7 separate regions of the Homo sapiens genome follow, and regions 1, 2, 3, 5, 6 and 7 are each linked to region 4. Evidence: promoter capture Hi-C in 16 types of primary human blood cells and fetal thymus (Javierre and others, 2016). All regions are on one chromosome and are shown on one strand. The core of a region is centred on a gene start or on the middle of the fragment in contact, and the rest is flanking DNA. Distances in the headings are between cores, read along the strand shown. Region 1 overlaps VPS37A (VPS37A subunit of ESCRT-I). Region 2 overlaps VPS37A (VPS37A subunit of ESCRT-I). Region 3 overlaps ZDHHC2 (zDHHC palmitoyltransferase 2). Region 4 holds the start of PCM1 (pericentriolar material 1). Region 5 overlaps MTMR7 (myotubularin related protein 7). Region 6 overlaps ZDHHC2 (zDHHC palmitoyltransferase 2). Region 7 overlaps MTMR7 (myotubularin related protein 7).

Region 1 (3,274 bases), core at 707-3,206, 660 kb before region 4:
TTGCCAGACCAATTAGAGCTCCTTTTTATGTTGTTTCTTTCCTCTTGCTGATTTTAGGATCCTCTCTTTGTGCTTCACCTTTGAGAGTTTGATGATTATATGCCTAGGAGTAGCCTTATTTGTGTCAGATTTGTTCAGTGTATCTGACCTTCCAGTACCTGGATATTTATGACTTTCTCAAGCTTTGGAAGTTTTTCTGTGACTATTTCTTGGAATAAGCTTTCTACCCATTCCTCTGGCTCAACTTCTTTTTGAACACCAGTAATTCTTAGATGTGGTCTTCTGAGGCAATATTCTGTATTTCGTAGGTGGTCTTCATTTCTTTTCAGTCTTTTTTCTTCTTTCTCTTACTGTGTATTTTCTAATAACCTGTCTTCAGGTTTACTGATTGTTTCTTCTGCCTGATCCATTCTGCCATGGAGAGCCTCTAATGTATTTCAGTTCAGCAAACATATTTCTCAGTTCCAACATTTCTGTTTAATTGTTTATTATTACTTAAATCTCTTTGTTAAATTTCTCTGATAAATTTCTGAATTTTTTGTTTTATCTTGGAGATCACTGAGTTTCCTTAAATCTACTATTTAAATTCTTGTTCAGAGAGCTTACATATTATTATCTCATTAGGGTCAGTCATTTGTTCTTTGTTTCATCCGCTTAGGGAAGTCAGGCTCCCTGTTTGCTCTTGTTTCCTGCGGATGTGCGTCTATGTCTTTACTTTGACGAATTAGTTATTTATTCTGGTCTTCTCTCTCTGGCTTGTTTTGGTTTTATTGAATGTATTTGCTTAAAGACTCTTTACTGTAAGGTTTCTGCCTCCTTTTTGGTTCTCAGTGGCACTTTAAACCCAGGTTTGCCTTGGCTCTAATAAGTACCTGGAGCAGTGCCCATCTCTAATGGGGGAGCTCCCAAAGGGGATATCCCAACAGTGTGGGAAGGCTGGCAAACGGTTCCTGCCCATGGTTTCTGTGGAATATATCTCCTACAACATGGAGCTGCTGAATAGGCACTCTGATTTGGTGTTTTCTTTGGCTGCAGACAGGGCAGTTTCCAGGGTTGAGGATGGTAGTCTTGCCTCTCCCCTTTGTCTCTGGCTGTCCTCAGGAATATTTCTCCCTTCAGTCCTCATGATGCTTCTGGTGAGTTGAGGCAGGGATGAGTCTCCTGCCAGGGAACCAAAAATGGTGGGAAAGCCGATTGTTCACCTCGATCTTACTTTTTCCAGTGTAGAAATCGTGAGTCGAGGGGAAATTTTTTGTATGCTTGATGCTGGGAAGATTGTGGGGAGAGGCATCACAGGTATGGAAGTCCGATTCTCTTACCATCTGCTCAGAGTTTTTTCACTTCTCTGTGGCCCTGAGAAGTGACTGATCCTCATATTTGAGTTCTGGGATGTCGTTGGTGTTAATCTTAGTGTTACATATTTGTTGTTTTCTGTGACATTAAGTGAAGCCAGCTTGCTTCTGTGACACCATTTTGGAACTTGAATTCTCTAAAGCATATTAAGGTCTATTTGTTTCCATTTGGGGGACTATCAAAGAAATGAGGATGCCAGTTAATCTATATTCTTAATAACAAAGTGATATATTATTACAGCTTTATTTAGCCCCAACAAATTCAGAGCCACTGAGGTAAAACCATAGTAATTCTCTTCTCCCAGAGAAACTAGAAAATGAAATTATTAATTTGCAGGTCATTTAAATTTTCTCTTGTGGTGTGATTAAAATATTACTTTAAAGTATGTGTGTGTGTGTGTGTGTGTGTGTGTATTTATGTTGAAAATAGTACCACTGTCAGTATAAAGATATGGTTATAAGAATGTTTATCAAAGTGTGGTTTGTAAGAATAAAAGCTGCAAACAATCTAAATATCTAATAGTAGAAAATAGCTTAAATAATAGTATGACCATATACTACAACATTATGCAGCCATTAAAAATTATATTGTAGGCCGGACACGGTGACTCACGCCTGTAATCCTAGCACTTTGGGAGGCCGAGGCGGGCAGATCACGAGGTCAAGAGATTGAGATCATCCTGGCCAACATGGTGAAACCCCGTCTCTACTAAAAATACAAAAATTAGCTGGGTGTGGTGGTGTGCACCTGTAGTCCCAGCTACTCAGGAGACTGAGGCAGGAGAATCGGTTGAACCCGGGAGGCAGAGGTTGCAGTGAGCCGAGATCTCGCCATTGCACTCCAGCCTGATGACTGAGTGAAACCCCATCTCAAAAAAAAAAAAAAAAGATATTGTAAAATAACATTTACTAATTTGGAAAGATAATCACAATTGAGTGAGAAAAGAGTAACTTACAAAATTGATGTACAGTGTAATTATATTTTTATTTTAAATGAGGCTATGAATGTGCAAAGAAGTTTAGAAGATTATAGAGCAATATGTTTACAGTGGTTTTTTGGCAACTTTTTTTTAATGAGAATGAATGTTTTGGAATAAGTTTTTTAAAAGTATTAAAATAGCAACATTCAAAATCACATTTGTGATGAATATTCAGGGAATTATTCCTGTTTTAATTAAGTAAAACAAGTACTTATCTGTTGTTTAATGCAGCTAATCAAAATGCATTTCTAGATTGCCATGATTAACTTGTTTTGGAATTTGTTGATGGTTCAGCTCTCATTAATATTATAAGTATCACCTTCTGTTATTTGTGATACTTAGTTTGTGAAGAAAACTCATAAAAAAAATTTTAGGAACTGTCATCAGTATAACTGGAGAAAATGAATTGGACATTTCTAACCAATTATTTAGATAAAAATTATTTAAATCAAATTTATTTTAATATGTTTTCAATGAAAATTTTCTATAAAAATCTGAACAATGTCTGAAAAACTGAGGAGTTAAAACTTCATTGGAAGGCCAAGGCAGGTGGATCGCTTGAGGTCAGGAATTCGAGACCAGCCTAGCCAGCATGGTGAAACCCCTTATCTACAAAATATATATATAACCGGGTGTGGTGGCACACACCTGTAGTCCCAGCTACTCATGAGGCTGAGGCAAGAGAATTGCTTGAACCCAGGAGGCAGAAATTCTAGTGAGCCAAGATCGTGTCACCACACTCCAGCCTGGGCAACAGAGCGAAACTCCGTGTCAAAAAGACAAACAAAAAACTTTAATACTATAAATCTAGAGAGGGACCAACCTCCATGTTCTACATGCCTATTTAATAATAGCTAACATTTATTGAACACTTATTTGCCTGGTACTGTGTTGGGGGATTTACATGCATTATTTTGCGTAATCTAACAAATCTTTTAGGTG
Region 2 (3,273 bases), core at 295-2,794, 640 kb before region 4:
TAAGTGATATTCTCAAGCAATTAAGTTAAACAGAATTAAGAACAAGAAAAAAATACTTAACTATATTACTGCTGTCCTATTTTAAGAAACCTAAGCTGAATAAGCTCCTTAGTTTCATACATTGTTCTTTACCTGAGTTAAGTTGACTTTATTTTTAATTTCAGGTCACTGTATAACTGTGAACACTTCCCCACGGTTGTGATTTTTAAAGAAAGTAGATATATCGATATATCCATTGGACCAAAATTTACTTTTACAGATTCTGTCAAGAATATATTACAGACTGCTCTATGTTCCATTGTGGTTGATGTTTTATTTGATTTTAAGGTTAAAACTGGCAGCCTTAGGTGTATATGTAAAAATTATTTAGAACCCTATCAGTTAACTAAAGCTGAAAAATTGTAAATAGTTGTCATGGAGAAAAACTCGATGTCTGATATTTATTGACATTTTTTCTTTTGTGTTTCTAGTGTGTCACAACTCACAGATATGAATGAACAAGAGGAGGTATTACTAGAACAGTTTCTGACTTTGCCTCAACTAAAACAAATTATTACCGACAAAGATGACTTAGTAAAAAGTATTGAGGAACTAGCAAGTATGTTTTCCCTCTCCTGAGCGCACATTTCCTGAAAAAAATCTCATCTTTACCTAGAAGTAAACTAGAGATTTATCTTACAGGAAAAAATCTCCTTTTGGAGCCCAGCTTGGAAGCCAAAAGACAAACTGTTTTAGATAAGGTGAGTTAGTGATAATTTTGAAGAAATTTACATAATTTAAAAATAGAATAAAACAACCTTTTCATTTTCTCTTTTAGTATGAATTACTTACACAGATGAAGTCCACTTTCGAAAAGAAGATGCAAAGGCAGCATGAACTTAGTGAGGTAAGACTGTTTATTTTTTTCCCTTTGCCATAGATTTTTTTTTTAATCTTATGTGCATGAGTCCTGATCTCACTTTCATTATCATCAGAAACCATTTATGAGGTATCTGACCTTATAAGACATGATACCTTTAAACGTGGATGAACAGCTCTCAGTGATGAGGCATCATACATTATTTGTGCTCATATAAGAGCGTATTTGTTTCTAAAACAGAAAATTATGACAGGCCCTGACACATAACTTTTCTGGGTAAGTTATGAAACCATTGTAACACTTGTAGTGAAACCTAGCAATAACAACAAAAACTTTCGACTCACTTGTAAGCTTATCTACAAATACCTTAAATGAAAAGTTCGCAAATTAAAAAGAATAATATATGAAAAATATATAGTATTATCTGCTACAAATAAGTTTTATGCTAGAAATCCAGTTATGTGAAAATCAAAAGAATTTTATAAAATTCAACCTATATTTCTGAAAAAAAAGGAATCTTTGAAAAGGAACCAGAGGACATAATCTTTGTATCATACCAATAACAACCTCATAGTTAATATTCTGTTTCCTGTAAAATTAGGAACTTTGGGTAAAGTCAATGAAATAAAACATAAAATAGACATAAACCAACAACAGCAAAAAAGATGGTAAAGGAGAATATAAATTTATAATGAATTTCAGATAATACGGTCATTTGTCAGAATAAAGAAATAATAGCTAACATTGAGCAATTAATATGTCTTGCACCGCATGAAGCTATTTACGTATATTGGGCCATTATTACACCAAATCCTATGAAATAGGTATTGTTACTTTTTCCCATTTTACATTTTACAGATAGGGAAACTGAGGCACAGGGAGATTAAATAAATTTCTTGAGGTCATACAAGTAGAAACATTAGTTAGGAGTGTAACCTAAGCAGTCCTCCTTCACAGAAAATCTGTGAGACTCAACTGAAGTACTGTTAGATATATACTGGACCTTAGTAAATGTTGAAGAAGCTTTCATAGTACTCAACATCATTCTTTATACAAACTCTTAGTAAACTAAAAATAGAAATTTCTTATTTGAAAAAGAATACTAGAAACCAGCAGTAAACCTCACAATTACTACACATTTCTAGGATCCCATTAATGTTAGGAATAAGAGAGTAATGCCTCATGATCACTGCTGTTTAACGTTGTTTGGGAGGTTTTGAGTACTGCAAGACCAAAAAAAAGTGGTATAACATAAAAAGAAGAAATGAAACAGTTGTTTACCAAAAATAAACAATCAAAAATTCTAGAGAACTGAGAAATTTTTTCCTGTTTGCTCCAGCAATTACTACTGCAAAATGAAGTACAGAAAACAACTCATTTACCATAGGAACAAAATTGTAAAGTACTTAGAAGTAAACCCAATGAAGTAAGTTAGGAAACTTTATTGAATGCCATAAAAGAAGAGCTGAGTTTTGTATTTTCTAAGACTATTTAGAGCAGCATAGAATATTCATTGAATGAAAGATCCATTATTAAAAAGATTTCATTCTCCCCAAAATAACTTAGAAATTGAATACAGTTCTTATCAAAATGCCAAGAATATTTTTTTTATCTTAACAGTTTATTCTAAAGTTCATCTGAAACTTTATTTTTCAGATGGGTAGTCAGGAAGAGCTTGAACAAAAAGAAAAAATGAAAAAAACTCCCTTTCCCAGTATCAGAATACACTGTAAATCCTCATTATTTAAAACAGTATAGTAGTTTTATAGGAAGAGAAAATTATTTCTATGGAACAGACTATGTAGTTCAAAAATAGACTTGTGTATGTGAATAATCAGTTGGAAAAAATTGAGGATTCAATAAATTATAAAATTGGTTATTTAGTATCCATTTAGAAAAAGGTTAGATCATTGTATCATACAATACACAGAAAGTTTATTACAGATAAACTGCTTCAGCGGAAACCATAAAACGTCAACTAGCTTCTAGGATTTTTTCTTTAAGATTATGGTGGGAAAAGCCTTTCTTAGCATAATAAAACAGATATGAGCATAAAGGAAAAACTCGACATATTTACCTCTACAGATTGAAAACTCAGATATATTAAAAAATCATGAAATCAAAATTGAAGTTAAAAAAAGGGTACAGATATTTTTAGCCTATACAACAAATACTAATGCCAGTGGTCTATTGGAAAAGGAAACAACAGGAAACTGACAAAAGGAGAAATATAAATGTCCAATAAAGATTCTGCTTTAACAGTTATTCTGATCCTTAAACATTCATATAAGAATTGCTGGAAGTGACTCTTCAAACACTTAAAAAAAAGACACACACACACACACACACAAAACAATGATTCCTAGGCTTCTTTCTAGATGTTCTCAGTCAAAATTTTCTGGGGATGATGAATC
Region 3 (3,165 bases), core at 212-2,711, 720 kb before region 4:
GATGTATTTTGAAGATGGATCATCATTGTCCATGGTGAGTTGGCTGTATATTTAAACAAGTTTGTGTCCCTTGTAAATGTTAATAAATTAAATCACTTATCCATGTAAATCTTTTCACACATGAAATATTACTTGAGTTGACATAGCAGGAACTTTTGGATTTAGTTTCTAATATTTGTTTAACTTAAAAGAGCCTTTATTTAGGGGAGTTTCCATGAAATACTTTTAAAACCAGTAGGTTAACAACCTAAAAGTTAATATCGCATGTTAGCTCAGAACAAAGGATTTTGTTTGTATGCATGTGCATGAACAGAGATTCCAGAATACTTCACAGAAATACACACAAAGATGTACAAGTAAATTATACATAGTACCTCACTGGAAGGTTTTTATAAAGAATTAAGTCATCAAAAGCTTTTTAACAATTTATTTTACACAGAATTTGACATTAAGGAGTAGAATACAACTACACAGATATACAAATGCACACATAAATTTAAACAAGATTTTCCACATAGAATTCATTAATATTTGCTAATATTTCTCAGTCACGAAATCAGGTAATTTAACAGAGGATTATTTGAAAGATCTGATTAGTAAGGTTAATTTTCCTTCCTTTTCCTATAATTTTTCATCTCAGTGTAGGCATATCTCTGACAGTCATGCCCAGGTTGCTGGCCAGGTTGGATTTGGGCGTGAGTAATGCTTATTCTTCAAGCTTTCTTTCAGGGATGGCTCTACAGAAAGGTAGACATGCCCACAGGTCCACAGTAGGTATAGGGTGAAATATATGTAGGGAATGGTTTTCTTAGCAGCAGGAAAGATTCCCAGGGGAATGTAGGATTATGGTATCCTGTATCTTTCACCAGTATACCTCTTTCTTTTCTCCACCTCGATTTTCTCCTTTAAAGCGTTCAGGCTAGTCAACCCATACAAGAATGGCACTCTTCTTAAAGGTCTCAATAAATAACGCCCCCTTCGTACTAATTGATACTTGCACTCATTCTTTTGCCCCCCTGCCCCCAGTTTTCTTTTCTGGTTTTTTTTACAACAAGTGTTCCCTCTCCCCCAGTGTCTTTAATAAGACTTCTTCTTCTTCTTCTTCTTCTTCTTCTTCTTCTTCTTCTTCTTCTTCGTCTTCGTCTTCGTCTTCTGTCTTCGTCTTCTGTCTTCGTCTTCGTCTTCTTCGTCTTTGTCTTCTTCTTCTTCTTTCTTCTTCTTTATTCTTTCTTCTTCTTCTTCTTCCTTTCTTCTTCTTCTCCTCCTCCTCCTCCCTCCTCCCTCCTCCCTCCTTCTTCTTCTTCTTTTCTTCTTTCTCCTTCTTCCTTCTTTCTTCTTCCTTCTTTCTTCTTTTTCCTTCTTCGTCCTTCTTCTTTCTTCTTCTTTTTTTTTTTTTTTGAGACAGAGTCTCGCTCTGTCGCCCAGGCTGGAGTGCGGTAGCGTGATCTCAGCTCACTGCAACCTCTGCCTCCCGGGTTCAAGCGATTCTCCTGCCTCAGCCTCCTGAGTAGCCAGACTACAGGCGCCTGTAACCTCACCTGGCTAATTTTTGTACTTTTAGTAGAGTCGGTTTCACCATATTGGCCAGGCTGGTCTCGAACTCTTGACCTTGTGATCCGCCCGCCTTGGCCTCCCAAAGTGCTGGGATTACAGGCGCGAGCCACCATGCCTGGCCAACGTCTTCTTAATTCTCCTTACATTCATTTGTTGACTTCCCCTGCAGCTGCTGTCAGTGCCCCACCTGTATCCCCATGACCCACCTGCTGAATTCATGGCATCTGGTGAACATCTCCCGTACCTGCTGGCAGCTCCCCATTCAGGCACCTGTGTTTCTTTTCTTCTCTGCCTGAGGGGGTCTCTTCTACCTGGGTAGTTTCGTTCAGCTCACAAGCCAGGCAGTCCAGAAGTGCCAAGGCATTCATACCTCCAGGGGCAACCCTCAACCAGTGACAGCCTGGCCGGTAAAAAATGCTTTATCCTTCCTGTCTCAAATGAACTGCATCCAAGTTCTTGTCTCAGAGTCTGCTTTGGGGTAAACCCATGTTAAGCACCCTCCTTTCTGGATAACTGTATACTCCAGATATATTCAGCAGAGTGGTAGTCATCATAGGCATAGTGTTGATTTTGATTTGTCTGACCTTAATAAGGGATTGTGATGACAAGGAATGGAGAGGTGGAAAAAAATCAGGTCAGTACATACCTATAAAGCTTCCCATGCCCTTGCTGTACTCACAAAATTACAAAAAGAGAAAATAATAATTTATCATTATAGTAATTTTGCTAAATCAACAGTTAATTTGGCCTCATGAGATACTTACAGTCTGATAGCCTTTACAGTTTTCACAGATTCTGTTAAATAAGTGAAGGAGAACAACAGAAATGAGACCCTAGAATTTTTAAAAATAGGTTCCATGGCATGCCTACACACCACCTGCTGTTACTCCACCCTTAGGTGGCAGTGTGGGAAGGTGAATGAACTGACTGCGGTACCTTTTAACCTGTGTCGTTGTTCACTTCCCCATCACTTCCCTTGCGGCATCCACTGTCTCCACCACTGTCCTAGCTCTGAGTACTCCCTTGCAGAAAGCAGCAGCCATGTTGACTTGTGAAGGATTTGATGCCAAGGGTCTGTTACTCACTTGGTGCCAGCTGAATGGAGCAGCCATTGTATTTAATTTTTTAATTTCAAATTAAAGTTTTAAATAAAAAAGTCTATAGGTAATAACATGCTTTTGGTTCCAAATTCAAAAATAAAACAGGTAGCCATGTTCTTCCCAGTCCCTCTCCCCACCTTCTTCCACTATGCACAGAGAACCAGGATTGTTAACGTCATGGCACTTTTCAGATCTCAATGTATGTGTGCATAGCCTATAAACCCCCTTGTTATTTATTTATTTATTTTTAGTACAAGTGACTACACTATTGATTGAATCTGTTTCTTTTTGTTTTCTTCACTTAATGTATCCTGGAAATGTTTCCGTATGAATATATAAAAAATCTTTTTCTACAGGCTTTGTGTGAATGTATTCATCTAATGGCAGTCACTTATAGGACTTTTAGGATGTTTTCAGACCCAGGGGCAGCCTTTTCTCTCTCTCTCTCTTTTTTTTTTTTTTTTTTTTTTTTTTTTTTAGATGGAGTCTAGCTCTGTAACCTGGGCTAGAG
Region 4 (3,246 bases), core at 581-3,080:
TAAATTCAGAAAACATAATGACTAGTACGTATTATAATTTCACGCTTTTGAATTTATTAGAATTGTTTTAATGATAACAGCTTCTACATACGTTTAATAATAATACATATGTATAAAGCAAAATAATGATGATAGCTAATATTTCGGGCCTCAACATATACTAGTGTTTTTATATGCGTTGTATTTAATTAAAAAAAATCTTAAAGGAATCACATAGACCTCCGTTTAAATTTAGGCTCTACCACTTGCAGCTGCTACAAGTTTGATTTATATAATCTTTCATTGCCAAAACGGGTCAGATTCAGAACCAGCCTCTTCAGGGTAACTGTGAGGATCAAGAAAATCACAACAGCCGAAGTGCTTTACAGTGTGCCTGGCATAAAACAAACTCTGAGAACATTTTTTAAAAAATCCTTTCAAGGTAGGCAGTATCATTCCTTCCCCCTCATTTCATAGATGGGGCAATTAAGGCTCAGAAAGGCACGTCGCTTGTCCAGGATCTTGGAGTGGTGGAATTAGGATAGGGCATTCTGGACTACAATAAACACCTGAGCGTTTAGCTGCTGTGTTCTGAGCTCCCACAGCACTTTTTCTTACAACACAAACTTTATTTACATCACACTCCACTTCCGCATCCTTCACTAAAATATGAGCTCTTCAAGGGCAGGGACTATATTTTTGCTACCGCAGTAGTTAGCGATACACACACAGAATATGAGGAAAAAGTGTCTGACCAACGATCAATGCACTCACGACTGAACCTACGGTGGCAGATTGCAGTGGGATAGAAGAGCTTTATGTGAATTGCGTACTGAGATGCAGACCTACTATTTTGGGAACAATTTGTTTTTGTTGTTGAAACCCAGAATGCAATTCTTCTTTTTACCTTTATTTTGCTTAAAAAGTTATTCCATAATTATAAACTGCGTAAAACTAGAAGAATGCCCTTGCACTCAACTAAAACTGACAGGTGTTTTACCTTTCCAGTCAGGCACATTGAAGGCCTTGTGACTTTATTGATTTTTGTTTTTTAAAGGGAGGACCTGCCAATTTATTAATCTTAATAGAGCTGTAACAGGAGAGTATAAATAAAAAGATAGTTCAGAGAAAATTTACTGAAATTAAGTTTGGATTAAAATCATCTGGCTCTTTTAAGGAAAAGGGACATTAACCAAAAGTGGCGTTAACTATCAACAATATTTATGATTCTCTCACTCAGTAGATACATAATGACGTCTGGCAAATTGTTTAACTTCCGTGGAACAATCCCCTCATATGTAAAATCAGGAGGTTGGACTACATTGTAAGTGTCCTTTTGTTTCCACCTCTTCGTGACCGAATGTGGGGTGAGGAAGGGGCAAAAAAGCGATCCCGGTCTTGGCTCCTTCTTCCGGCACGGGCCGGAGCTGACACCCCCACGGAAAACCGCACAGCGCCTCCGCTCTTTCTCCACGGGCTGAGGGATCAATGCACTTCCGCATAGGCCTAGGGCCCCACGCTCCGCGATCAGCGCCGGAAGCGCACGGCATGCTGGGATTTGTAGTCCTCCACCTGTGGCCGGCAGGCGTTTAGAACGCGAGGTCTAGTTGGCATTCTGGGATACATAGTTCCTGGGCGGGTGGGGGCGGATTCGTTGGTGTAATCTCTTTTCGGCTTAAAGAGCCAGAAGCGACACCACAGACTCCGGCGGGTCACATGACTCCAGTCTAGCTCGCATTGCGGCTCCCGCCCGGGCGAGTTCTCGCCCCCGCGCGGCCGTTGCCGAGGAGACGGCGCATGTCCCGCCGCGCGTTGCCCCCTCTGCAGTACCCCCGCCCCTCTTCTCCCACCACAATGAGATCCTAAGATGGCGGTGGCTGCGGCGGTTGGCGCTGCGTAGCTGAGGTCGAAAAGGCGGCCACTGGGGCCGAGGCAGCCAGGAAACGTGTGGGCCTCTCTGCTGCGGTCTCCGAGGGCCGACCGCTGCCGGCGGCGGGTCGTGGGGGCTGACTGTCGCTCTGCCTTTGACAGGAGAGGCTGCTTCTTGTAGAGGTAATGCCTGCGCGTCCCCAGCCCTTGGCAACCTAGGGCGGCGCGCCCCAGAGGCGGGAGAGTAACGGCTCCGGGACACTCGGCCCTGTTGGGTCTGGCCACGGGCCCACGCCTCCTCTGTAGGTTCCCGGGTCTTCCTGCCCCGGGCTTCCCGTGCCCTAGGCGGTCAGTCCGCCCGCTCCCTCAGGACTGATCGCCGGGATCCCCGGGTGAGCACCTCGCGACGCGTTGGTGATTGCAGGACTCCCTTCTTGCCTCCTCGCCCCTCCTGCTGGCCCTGTCGGGGAGGCTGTTCTGCGTCCCGGTGGCTCCGGCTATACCCCTTGCGGGCGGAGGAAGCGGAGCGGGGACTCTGGTTTGGGTGCTAGGGGCACTGGGTCGAGTTCTTAGAGAAACAGGCCTTGGTGGCCATAGTTCTTCCCCGCGTTCCCTCTGTGGAACTCTCGGTGTCCAGAGTTTGGGGTGTAGAAGGGCGGATGAGGAGCGACGCGACTCTGAAGAGTTGCAGTTGGGCTGTGAGCTGCAGGATTTCCGCCGTCTCTGGTGCTGTGGGAGCCGATGGGCCGGGGGAGGCGTTCCTGGGAAGGTTAATGGAGTAATTATTGCCCCTTCTTTCTCCCTTCCTACCTATCTAGTTAGAATTGGGCCTAGAACCGGGAAAGACTAAATGCCAAGTGGGACTGGGGGAAACGTTGTTTGGTTTACAGAAACTGGCGTTTGGGGATTAGGCCCCGCCAGGGAGGCTGGGCGCGCCAACTTTGCATCCCTCAGCCTACTCCCCAGGAACTCGCCTGGTTTAATTTTTTTTGTTTTGTTTTGTTTTTTTGAGCGAGTTGAGGTCTGTATTGTGTGTCTTACGGGTGACGGTTCGTGTTTGGGCGCTGGAAGGAGCGGGCTTTCTGGGCGCCCCTACCACCCCCGCCCCATAACCGCTTTCCAGACTCCGCCTGCTGGTGTTCTCTGGTTACCGGAGTGGGTGTTGCAGAGCCTCGGGTGCACCTGCTCCTTTCTTTCCCTAGCACCTTCCTGGTGAGGACCCCTGAACACCAATATAATACAGAGTTTTTGAATTGAAGGTAAACCTGGTATTTATGTAGTGACGAGGTTATTTTATTATGAAGTACAGTAGCTTTTAAATGAGCAAACATTTTTAAAATCATCGGATATACGAGGTTGTTACATAGTTTGAGTAACAGGAAGCTCGATCAATCAGAG
Region 5 (3,365 bases), core at 518-3,017, 610 kb before region 4:
TGTTACCAAAAGGAATCAGTTATAACTTCATTTATCTATGATATGACATATACAACAAAATTTAAGCTTTCTGAATAAGAGACACAAACTCAAAAAACAAGACGATTTTCCCCTAAATATTCAATTGAAATTTTCAGAAACAGTGCTTTTATTCTAAACATTCAAAACAGTCTTAAATATTACTTACCGGTGATTAAACTTATGACCAAAGGAAATCCAGTCCTTTTCAATTAATACCTACACAAGAAAGAATACAAATATCTTGGAGAGAAGCAAACGAAAAATAAGAGACCACACAACCAATAATGTTGAGGAATTCAGAGGCACTTGCAGAAGTCCCCATCCTCGAGTAACCTGCAAATGCATGAACAGGCATTATCCACCCATATAGAGATGCACATGGCAAAGGCAAAGTTGAAGGTCATCCATGGGAACAGTGAGTGGAAATGGATGTATAAAAATGCAGGAACCCCACCCGCTGAATGCTTCCTATGTGCCAGGCACTGTTCACATTGCTTTACGTATGATCTCTAACTGTAGGATAGGTATTCTCACTCTTTTAGAAGGGGAAACCGAAGGAAAGAGGTTTCATATTCGCCCAAGATCATGCTACTAGGAAGGAGACCCCACTTCACAGCCCAGGTCTCTCCACTTCAAACCCTATCTCAACCAATGTGTGATGCTGCCTCTCAGTGTAATGTAAATTACCAACCTCTTTACAAAAACAACTGGGAAGTTTTTCAGTGATCTTTTCTACACATTATAAGAATTCTAAAATGATGGTGTTTGGGGTATATTCAAAGCTTCAGCCCTGCTTTGAAATTAGGGTTAACATGAATTTCTAAGTCTGAGGCAGTCCAGATTATTATTTTTAAGTATTTATTTTGGTTTTGTATTTTATATTGTTTTATATTTTAAAATTTATTTTTGAGACAGGATCTCACTCAGCCACGTAGGCTGGAGTGCAGTGATGAGATCATGGCTCACTACACCCTTGACCTCCTGAGCTCGAGCGATCCTCCCACCTCAGCCCAAGTAGCTGGGACCACAGGTGGGCTCCACCACACCTGGCTAATTTTTTTTTAATTTTTTATAGAGACGAGGTCTCGCCATGTTGCCCAGGCTGGTCTCAAACTCTGGGGCTCCAGCAAGCCTCCCTCCTTAACCTCCCAAAATGCTGGGATTACAGGTGTGAGCTACCACACCCAGCCTGGATTTTAAAAAGTGTTCAGTCAAGTAATATGGATAGTCTCATCAATATCCCCAATGCTTTAAAGTGGCCAGAGATTTCCCCTTACAAAGAAATATGAACTAGTGGAAGTCTGTTCTTGACAACTCGAGACATTTTCTTTGGGTTGTAAGTTTAATGGGGCACAATGAGAACAAGTTGATGATGGAAACGCATGTGTGCAGGAGAAGAGCCTAAGGGCAGTGTGTGACTGGCAACCTCTTTACTCTCCAAATGCAAATGAAGCAATCCAGCCCTCCTGACTTCAGTCCAGCAGGGATCTGAAGCAAGGGTATCACTTTGAGGTGTCAATGCTATCACAGGTAATTGGAAGTTCTCAGACACTTCCAAAAAAAGAAAAACATCCCAGAGAGGGAGCCTGCCTCTTCGCTCTTGTCCGAGGGTGTTGCTGATATTACTCAATAATGGAGACCCAGCAGTAAAGATATTCCATTAGGACTCCTTTGTCAGCATCTTGTGTAGCACGGATTCATGATTCACTGAAGCACTGTCTACCAAATCATGGTTAAGAGGTGAATTCATTTTAAGGAACTTATACCAGATTAGTGAAAACTTCACCATCCCAGGCAACTATATACAATACTCTGTAGTTGAAAGCAACGTTACATTTGATGCCCACCTAAAAAGCTCAAACTCTACAGGATATACTCGTCATTTCAGCAAAGAACAACAACAAAAGGCTGTGAAATTTTCAGCATTCTCATCCAGGGGTGTGAAGGACTACTTAAAAAACATACCCTGGAAGTGAAAACAGTTTTTCCTACCAAGGACTTTTGGCATACACAATATAGAAAATTTCTTCCCAAAATATTTTTTCTAAAAAGTCTTCTGTTACATATTCATGTTACCTCAAACTTGAAATACTTATGAGCAAATGATATATAAAATTGGCTTACAAACTACCAAATATATTTTATATTTGCCCCAAAACTCATTCAGTAGCATTGACTTGAAATGGTTTCAATATCCCAGAAATTCATCTCTTTATTCCAAGCCTTCCCCTTTAATCTTGCTGATTAAATTAATCTTGATCTCTTCCCCTTTAATCTTGCTGAGCTACTAAAAGAAAAATAATGCTGGCAAGAAAACAGCAGTTGCCAGTAGTTGTAAAAACAGGGGTCCATTCCTGGTCAAGGCACCGCCTGTGGGAATCGCCCAGTGGCCACACTCACCATGAAGCCCTTCAGAGTCCGGTAGTGAGGGTCCAGCAGCAGGCTTGCCACCGAGCACACCTGAGCGGTCCTGTCCCAGCCATCAGAACAGTGAACAAGCACACTTGCCCCTTCCTCTGACACTGCCTAGAAAACACACGATCCGCAAAGAGTCACAAAGAATGGCTGTAAAAAGGCAGAACCTCTCATCACAGCCAGGTTTGACTGTATATTTACAGAAAGAAACAGCCAAAACGAAACACCTGTCCATTCGTCTGTTTAGGGCCCCCCCTAATTAGGGCAGAGCCAGAGTGGCCTGGTGCTGGCAGCTAAAGCTTTCCCTTCCCATTCTATCCAGAAGCCACCACTCAAGTCACCTCCAATAAGCGCATGTACTTACTAAACATAAGCATTCGTCCTATGCAAACGGACCTTCAACCCTCTTCCCTCCCCTCTGAGTTTCCACATTAAGCCTTACTGAAATTCTGGAGTTGCTACTGGCCCCAGCCATTTCCAAAAAGGAAAAGGCAAAAAAGTTATAAATTACAGACCTATGAAGTTATAAATAAAAGGTAAGCGTCAAGTAATGGATGTAAGGTTGAGGAAAGGAAAAAACAAAAGTAAAAATGACACCAGAAAATCTCCAGTAAGAAAAGAATATCTATTTGCTATTGCAAATGCACATCATTTTTTACTAAATATCTTGGCAGTTAACATACGCTGGGAAACATGGGAGAGATTTCATCATAGCATTTATCACTACCTAAAATTCTAGTTTTATTAGTTTATTAATACTCTGTCTCAGCTGGAGGCAGTGGCTCACGCATGTAATCCCAGCACTTTGGGAGGCCGTGGCGGGTGGATCACCTGAGGTCAGGAGTCCGTGACCAGCCTGACCAACATGGTGAAACCCCGTCTCTACTAAAAATACAAAAATTAGCCAGGCATAGTGGCGCGTGCCAGTA
Region 6 (2,959 bases), core at 217-2,716, 700 kb before region 4:
TAACTTATGTGCTTTCATTAAGGTATGAGCAATCCTGCATTAACCATGGAAAATGAGACTTAACTCTTCAAGCAAGATAAATTCATACTTTATAAAAGTACGATAATTTTCCCTTTATTGTTTTATATTTTTAACAGTCTTCTAATTTTATTAGGGCAAATAGTTTCCATAAACATTTTTAATAATTTGTGAGTGATTCATATAGAAGATCTTTTACCTGACTTGTGAGATTGCATTAGCCATGCTGGGGCTTCTGAGTGCAGACCTAGCTTCAGTATTAGCTGGTATTTGTGTTAACTTGATTAATTATATAAATAAGTTGATGAACAAGAGTCATTTTATATTAATGCATTAAGTGGTAGGGATCAATCCTAAAATACTGAACTATATGTAAAAATTATCTTGTCATTTTATAGGAAGTTAGAATAATTATTTTTAATTTTTCTTCATCTTTCAGAATATACAGTGGTCATATCCTTGACCATCCATTAGGAAACTCTAAGTCGAAGTGCAATATAATTATATCTCATTAATGTACTCATTAGCACACTGTCATTCCCATTTTTGGGTCATAGTAGGGCCTTATAGCATGTGTTAACCTTAAAATAATAGGTGTTCCAAATCATTTTCTTTAAGCCTTATTTTTTTTTAAACCTGCAGTTCCAAATCAGTTTCTTTAAAATATGATCTGTTTGTAAGCCTGCAGTCAATAAAAAGCTACAATAAGGAACCCCTTTGGAACAAACAACTATATAATAAACAGTTTACCGAGCTGAATATTAAAGATAGCAAGATAACTCTCTCTTTACATAACGGCAATCTAGAATCCTAAAGTCTATGAAAAGCAAGAGATTCACTTGTAAAACAAAATGATTTGCATCAAAGTTCATGGATATCTGTTTTTATTTGTCTGTTCTGGTTTTGGTAAGTTAGCCATGTATTGTCAGCAAAATGCTGACCTGGCAATTTGCCAGCTGACTAGTATCTGATTTTGGGAAGAGCAGGATCAGCTCTGAATACCTGTTGCTACAGTAGGTCAGACTGACTATAACTGGTTAAAATAGTGAAAATTTCATCTGAATTTGATTAAATAGCAAAGACATTATTAAATTTCTGAAAATAATTTTAGAATGTAACTATGAATGTAATTTTAGAGTATAGCTATAGCAAATATGAGTCACTACCAGCCAATACCACAAATAAAATATACAGAACATAGTTCTGTAAGACATAGAATTTCACAGGATTTTTTTCAATATTTTGAAATCATCAGTTGCAATAACCATTGTTTTTAAGGTCAGTGCTATTAGGAATTTTTCTGTGTGTTAAGTGTTTTACATATTTACATGGTAATATTATATAAAAGCCATCGAGACTTCCCAGTATTTTGACAATACCAGTATTGTGGTTATTTATCTCCAACACCTTGCACAATGCCAGACACATAGTAGTTTCTCAACATTTGATGGATAAGTGACAAAATTAAAACATTGAAATTAAAAATCTGACAGAAACTTGATTTTATTAATTCAAATATGGCATGATTAGGCATAATCACAAAATGGCAGCATGAATCAGCGCTATAGATCTAAAAATACCCGATTTTCTGATGTCATGTTTTCTATTCTATCGATACAACCAGTTGCAGTAACATGTTTTGTTTTCTTAAACTTTCCCTAAAGTAGCTAATAGAAACTAGACTTTTAAAAATAATTTTTTCCTGCTTTACATCTCAGATTTGCAATTCATTCCAGTTGTATTTATATCAAATAATAGTTTGATACTGATGTGCCTAATTTATATTAAATATCTTCATATTGGCCGGGCGCGGTGGCTCACGCCTGGTAATCCCAGCACTTTGGGAGGCTGAGATGGGTGGATCACAATGTCAGGAGCTCAAGACCAGCCTAACCAACAAGGTGAAACCCCATCTCTACTAAAAATACAAAAATTAGACGGATGTGGTGTGGCGCACCTGTAATCCCACCTACTCAGGAGGCTGAGGCAGGAGAATTGCTTGAACCCAGAAGGCAGAGGTTGCAGTGAGCCAAAATCGTGCCATTGCACTCCAGCCTGGGAGCTTGGGTGACAGAGCAAGACTCTAAAAAAAAAAAAAAAAAAAAAAAAAACAGAAAAAAAACACTTCATATTTTTTCTCCTATTTTTGAACTACAATAGTAAATGATGTCACCTTTTTATAAAATATTTGTTTGTTCAGCAGTTTCCAGATGGTTATAATGTGCCTAAACCCATAGTTAGTACTAAAAAGTAAATTAAATTTAGCTTACCAACCTTTCCTATCATATGGTATAAATAAAAAATGCTGGCCAGGCGTGGTGGCTCACACTTGTAATTTCAGCACTTGCGGAGGCCAAGGCAAGCAGATTGCTTGAGCTAAGGAGTTGAAGACCAGCCTGAGCAACATGGTGAAACCCCGTCTCTACCAAAAATACAAAAAGAAAAAAAATTAGCTGGGTGTGGTGGCATGTGCCTGTGGTCCCAGCCACTCCAGAGGCTGAGGTGGGAGGATGAGAGGATGACTTGAGCCAGGGAGGCGGAATTTCCAGTAAGCTGAGATGGAGATCGCATCACTGCACTCCAGCCTGGGTGACAGAGTGAGGCCCTGTCTCAAAAAACAAAACAAAACAAAACAAAGCTGTGCTTCTATGCACATGAAGTTTCAAAATCATTTCCCTAAATGTCCTTCCTGACTCAGTTGCCACTCCTAAACTCCATTCAGCCTCAGATGAATGCAGAACTAACAACATAGAACCCTGCCACTCACATTGAAGCCCCAAACCAGCAACATTGTCATGACCTGGAAGATTAATAGAAATGCAGAATCTTAGGCCTTATCCTAGACCTACTGAATCAGAGTCTGCAATTTTTTTTTTTGCATTTTAATAGGATCCTTTCGTATATGCATATTAAAGTTTGAGCAGTATTGATGTAGAGTTCC
Region 7 (3,036 bases), core at 243-2,742, 580 kb before region 4:
CTACATAACCCATGTGCGTAAGGCCTAAAATTAATATTATGTGTTGCTTCGACATCTGGTAAAACCGAGAGGGCCTCAAATGGCCTCACTGCAAGTTCCCTGCCACGCTCTGCTCCTGCAGGTAAGGTTCCCAAGTGAAACAATTCTTATCCAACAGACCAGGTGCAGTTCCTGCCCGTCCCCCAGAAGCAGGTTTTAGTTCCCTGCCAGTCATGGAATGATGCACGCAAGCTAATCACATCCTCCTGTGGGAACCAAGGGTGACCCCACGCTCCTGATACTACACAGCCTGCCTCTCACAGCCCCTGGCTGTCACTCTGCTCCTCAGCGCAACCTCATGTGCCCCTTCATGGGCTGTGGTGTCCTCCTCCCCTTGGCAGTGAGTATATGTGACTGTTCATCTCACCTGCCCAGTGTCAAGTGCTGTGTGTCTGGCTGTCCCTGTAACCTAGAGCAGGAATCCCTCCCTCACCACAGGGGTGAAAGAATGTGATTACATCCATTAAAAGTAATGGCAAAAACTGAAATTACTTTTGCACCAACCTAACACTACATGTGGTAACAGCTGATACAAAGGGAAAGATGGACCCTCCACAGGGGCCTTTATATTGAACAGAACTTCAGGTTCATAAAATCTCGTGCACTTCAAGCTTCTCCTAATCTGATCACCAGTTCCCAGTGCCCAAAATTAGCCAAGTCATCTCACCACCAAAATCAAAAGTGTCCCTTTGGTAGCATACGTGGGAAACAGTATTTTCACTATAAAATGTAGTATCCTTATTCATAAGCATAAATTCTTTGGGGGTAGGAATACATACTCTTTAAGCCTAAAATGTCTCAAATAACCAAAGAGAAGAAAGACAGATCAGCAAATTTATGGAATGTGTACCTGTTTACTTTTTGTGGGAGACTGCCTGTTTTCTATACGGCCATCGATGAGCAATGACAGCACAGATAACTACTCTGGTATTTCAGTGTCTTCCATTAAGCACAGAAATCCACCTTTGGTAATAATACTTCCCTTTAGGAAAAGCCCTAGTCAAATCAGAAGCATTTATATAATTAACCTTGATATTAAAATGTAAACATTGTTATAAAACACAAATTTGATCATTATTCCACCTGCAAAATAGATTTCAGTTCATGGGGTGGGAGAGTGGGCGGGCAGGTGTGTGCTCACTCGGGACTTCCCTGGGGTAACCCGATCACGCAGCGCTGCTTCGAGACACATCTCTGTTCTGTACCTTGGAAGAAGAGCTAGAGCTTCAGGTTGTTTCTGCTTTAAAATCTTAAATATGGGCAATGAATACTCTTAAGCTCTAACTATGCTGTGTGAGTTCATTTTCAGGCCTGGAGGTTCAGTAAAATAGCACTTGGGGGAGCAGGCGTGGAGCCATGTGGGTCTGAGGTCAGCCGGGGAAGAAGCTGCCTCTGAGGTCTAACTGCTAAAAATTCTCTTTCTGAGACAATACATATTTAATCCTGATACTACTCACATTGACAAAAAGTAAAATGTCCCTTGTCTCAAGAATATAAAAAGGGAGTTGCTAGGCACACTGTGCTCACTTTTTAAATATTCTACAGACAACAATAAAACACCTCTGAAACAACAATAAAAGATCGTTTCTCCCTCTCCTGGATTCATCTTCTCTCTTCTTTAATCAATGGATGCTACAAAAAAAAAAATGTGCATGTTACCAGCAACCTAATTTCAAGTGCAACATCATGAAACTTCCTATCTCTATTTATCCTATCTTAATAAAAAAAAAAAAAAAAAAAAAAAAAAGAGGCAAGGGGCGGCGCCTCACACCTGTAATCCCAGCACTTTGGGAGGCCGAGGCAGGCAGATCACTTGAGCACAGGAGCTCAAGACCAGCCTGGGCAACATGGCTTTCCTCGTCTCTACAAAAAATGCAAAACAATTAGCTGGGCCGGGTGGCACACGCGTGGTCCCAGTGACTCGGGAGGCTGAGATGGGAAGATCACTTGAGTCTGGGGAGGTCAAGGCTGCAGTGAGCCAAGATTGTGCCACTGCACTCCAGCCTGGGCGACAAGTGAGATCTTGTTTCCGAAAAAAAAAAAAAAAAATCACATCTTCCTTTGCCTCTAACCAGTGCTCCAGCTCTGTGCAAGCTGAAATACATTCAGAGTTAATAAAATACTTTAGACCCTAATTCAAGGCTAGGAAAAGAAGAAGAGCAATGAGTATAACTAAAAATAATTTTTATCCAATTCACAGAACTTTCACCACCAAATTAATATTTTCCTTCAAAGTAGCAACAGAGAGGGCTATGTGCTCACTCTGATGAAGCTGGCATTGCTCCAGATATTTTTGGAAGCTTCTAGAATCTGACTGAGACCCTGCTCTACCCCCCGGCTGTAGGTGCAGGCATGTGGATACACACTCACACAATCTCCTGTGTTTATAGCCTCACTCGGCTTTGAATCCAGAAGTATATTATCTAGCTTAAAAACTAAAGTTTCTCTCTCACCTTGCTAGAACCAAAGAACATTTTGTTTTTTTAAACCACCTTTTTTAAAGGTGGTTTTTTGCTACCTTTTAAAAGTGGGTGCCAAAGACCATTCTTGCTCATCCGAATTTGTTTTCCTATCCTCCGCAGAAATGGAACTCTAAGTTTTAGCTATTTTAATGGCCACCCATAACACTGTACTTCCACACCTGCCCTGTGCAATTCTGATGAAAGGGAGGTGTCACGTGGCAGTTTTTGGAAGCCTTCCTTAAAAAGCTGGGCACACAACATTAGCCCTCCGTCACCTGCCACCTGCAGTGTGTGGGTGGTGACTGTACTGAAGTGACCTCTTGCACCAGGCAGGCCATGGCCAAATCCAGGTGGTGGTAGAGCAGAAAGGTAGAAGGAGCTTGAGTACCTGAAGGCTAAGTGGGGTGGGGCCAGGCTACCAGGCTAGGACTGCGCACCCTGGTAATTTTACGCAACAGAAAAAAATTGTATCCTCTTAGAGCCACTGTTACTTAGAGTCTCTATTACAGACAAACCCAATTCTGGCTTTTATAAA

What was found. Contacts are between HindIII fragments. The CHiCAGO score rates a contact against its expected background, and 5 or more counts as called.
Region 1: a fragment that was not itself captured here is called in contact with the fragment with the promoter of PCM1 in region 4 in 13 of 17 cell types (neutrophils, naive B cells, monocytes and 10 more); the score reaches 12.1 in neutrophils.
Region 2: a contact is called between a fragment that was not itself captured here and the fragment with the promoter of PCM1 in region 4, in 9 of 17 cell types (neutrophils, total B cells, monocytes and 6 more). The highest score is 9.2, in neutrophils.
Region 3: a contact is called between a fragment that was not itself captured here and the fragment with the promoter of PCM1 in region 4, in 1 of 17 cell types (neutrophils). The highest score is 6.3, in neutrophils.
Region 5: a contact is called between a fragment that was not itself captured here and the fragment with the promoter of PCM1 in region 4, in 1 of 17 cell types (neutrophils). The highest score is 6.7, in neutrophils.
Region 6: a fragment that was not itself captured here is called in contact with the fragment with the promoter of PCM1 in region 4 in 2 of 17 cell types (neutrophils and naive B cells); the score reaches 8.0 in neutrophils.
Region 7: a contact is called between a fragment that was not itself captured here and the fragment with the promoter of PCM1 in region 4, in 1 of 17 cell types (neutrophils). The highest score is 12.1, in neutrophils.

The regions. Positions count from the first base shown.
Region 1 is chr8:17,260,836-17,264,109 of GRCh38, forward strand. All of the region lies in intron 1 of VPS37A (VPS37A subunit of ESCRT-I), which reads left to right. Among named protein-coding and RNA genes, the nearest start is that of VPS37A, 16 kb to the left of the region's middle. The HindIII fragment of the contact is 3,479 bases long and covers 218-3,274 here.
Region 2 is chr8:17,279,558-17,282,830 of GRCh38, forward strand. VPS37A (VPS37A subunit of ESCRT-I) reads left to right here. Exons shown (of 12, transcript NM_152415.3): 7 at 471-598; 8 at 682-740; 9 at 818-886. Among named protein-coding and RNA genes, the nearest start is that of VPS37A, 34 kb to the left of the region's middle. The HindIII fragment of the contact is 672 bases long and covers 1,209-1,880 here.
Region 3 is chr8:17,198,380-17,201,544 of GRCh38, forward strand. ZDHHC2 (zDHHC palmitoyltransferase 2) reads left to right here. Exons shown (of 13, transcript NM_016353.5): 6 at 2-34. Among named protein-coding and RNA genes, the nearest start is that of ZDHHC2, 43 kb to the left of the region's middle. The HindIII fragment of the contact is 1,490 bases long and covers 717-2,206 here.
Region 4 is chr8:17,921,158-17,924,403 of GRCh38, forward strand. PCM1 (pericentriolar material 1) reads left to right here and starts at 1,831. Exons shown (of 39, transcript NM_006197.4): 1 at 1,831-2,031. LOC124901867 reads right to left here. Exons shown (of 4, transcript XM_047422505.1): 2 at 3,000-3,070; 3 at 2,352-2,609; 4 at 1-2,189. The coding sequence ends at 1,507. RefSeq lists enhancers at 1,199-1,648, 2,799-2,858 and a silencer at 2,043-2,337. The HindIII fragment of the contact is 6,694 bases long and covers 1-3,246 here.
Region 5 is chr8:17,309,090-17,312,454 of GRCh38, forward strand. It overlaps MTMR7 (myotubularin related protein 7), which reads right to left. Exons shown (of 14, transcript NM_004686.5): 9 at 2,422-2,547; 10 at 188-237. It also overlaps a transcript of VPS37A not described here. Among named protein-coding and RNA genes, the nearest start is that of VPS37A, 64 kb to the left of the region's middle. The HindIII fragment of the contact is 1,932 bases long and covers 802-2,733 here.
Region 6 is chr8:17,217,150-17,220,108 of GRCh38, forward strand. It overlaps ZDHHC2 (zDHHC palmitoyltransferase 2), which reads left to right. Exons shown (of 13, transcript NM_016353.5): 12 at 23-97. The coding sequence ends at 63. Among named protein-coding and RNA genes, the nearest start is that of CNOT7, 28 kb to the right of the region's middle. The HindIII fragment of the contact is 4,516 bases long and covers 1-2,959 here.
Region 7 is chr8:17,345,125-17,348,160 of GRCh38, forward strand. All of the region lies in intron 5 of MTMR7 (myotubularin related protein 7), which reads right to left. LOC102724838 (a long non-coding RNA gene) reads left to right here. Exons shown (of 4, transcript XR_428318.4): 1 at 1-121. Among named protein-coding and RNA genes, the nearest start is that of MTMR7, 67 kb to the right of the region's middle. The HindIII fragment of the contact is 1,689 bases long and covers 649-2,337 here.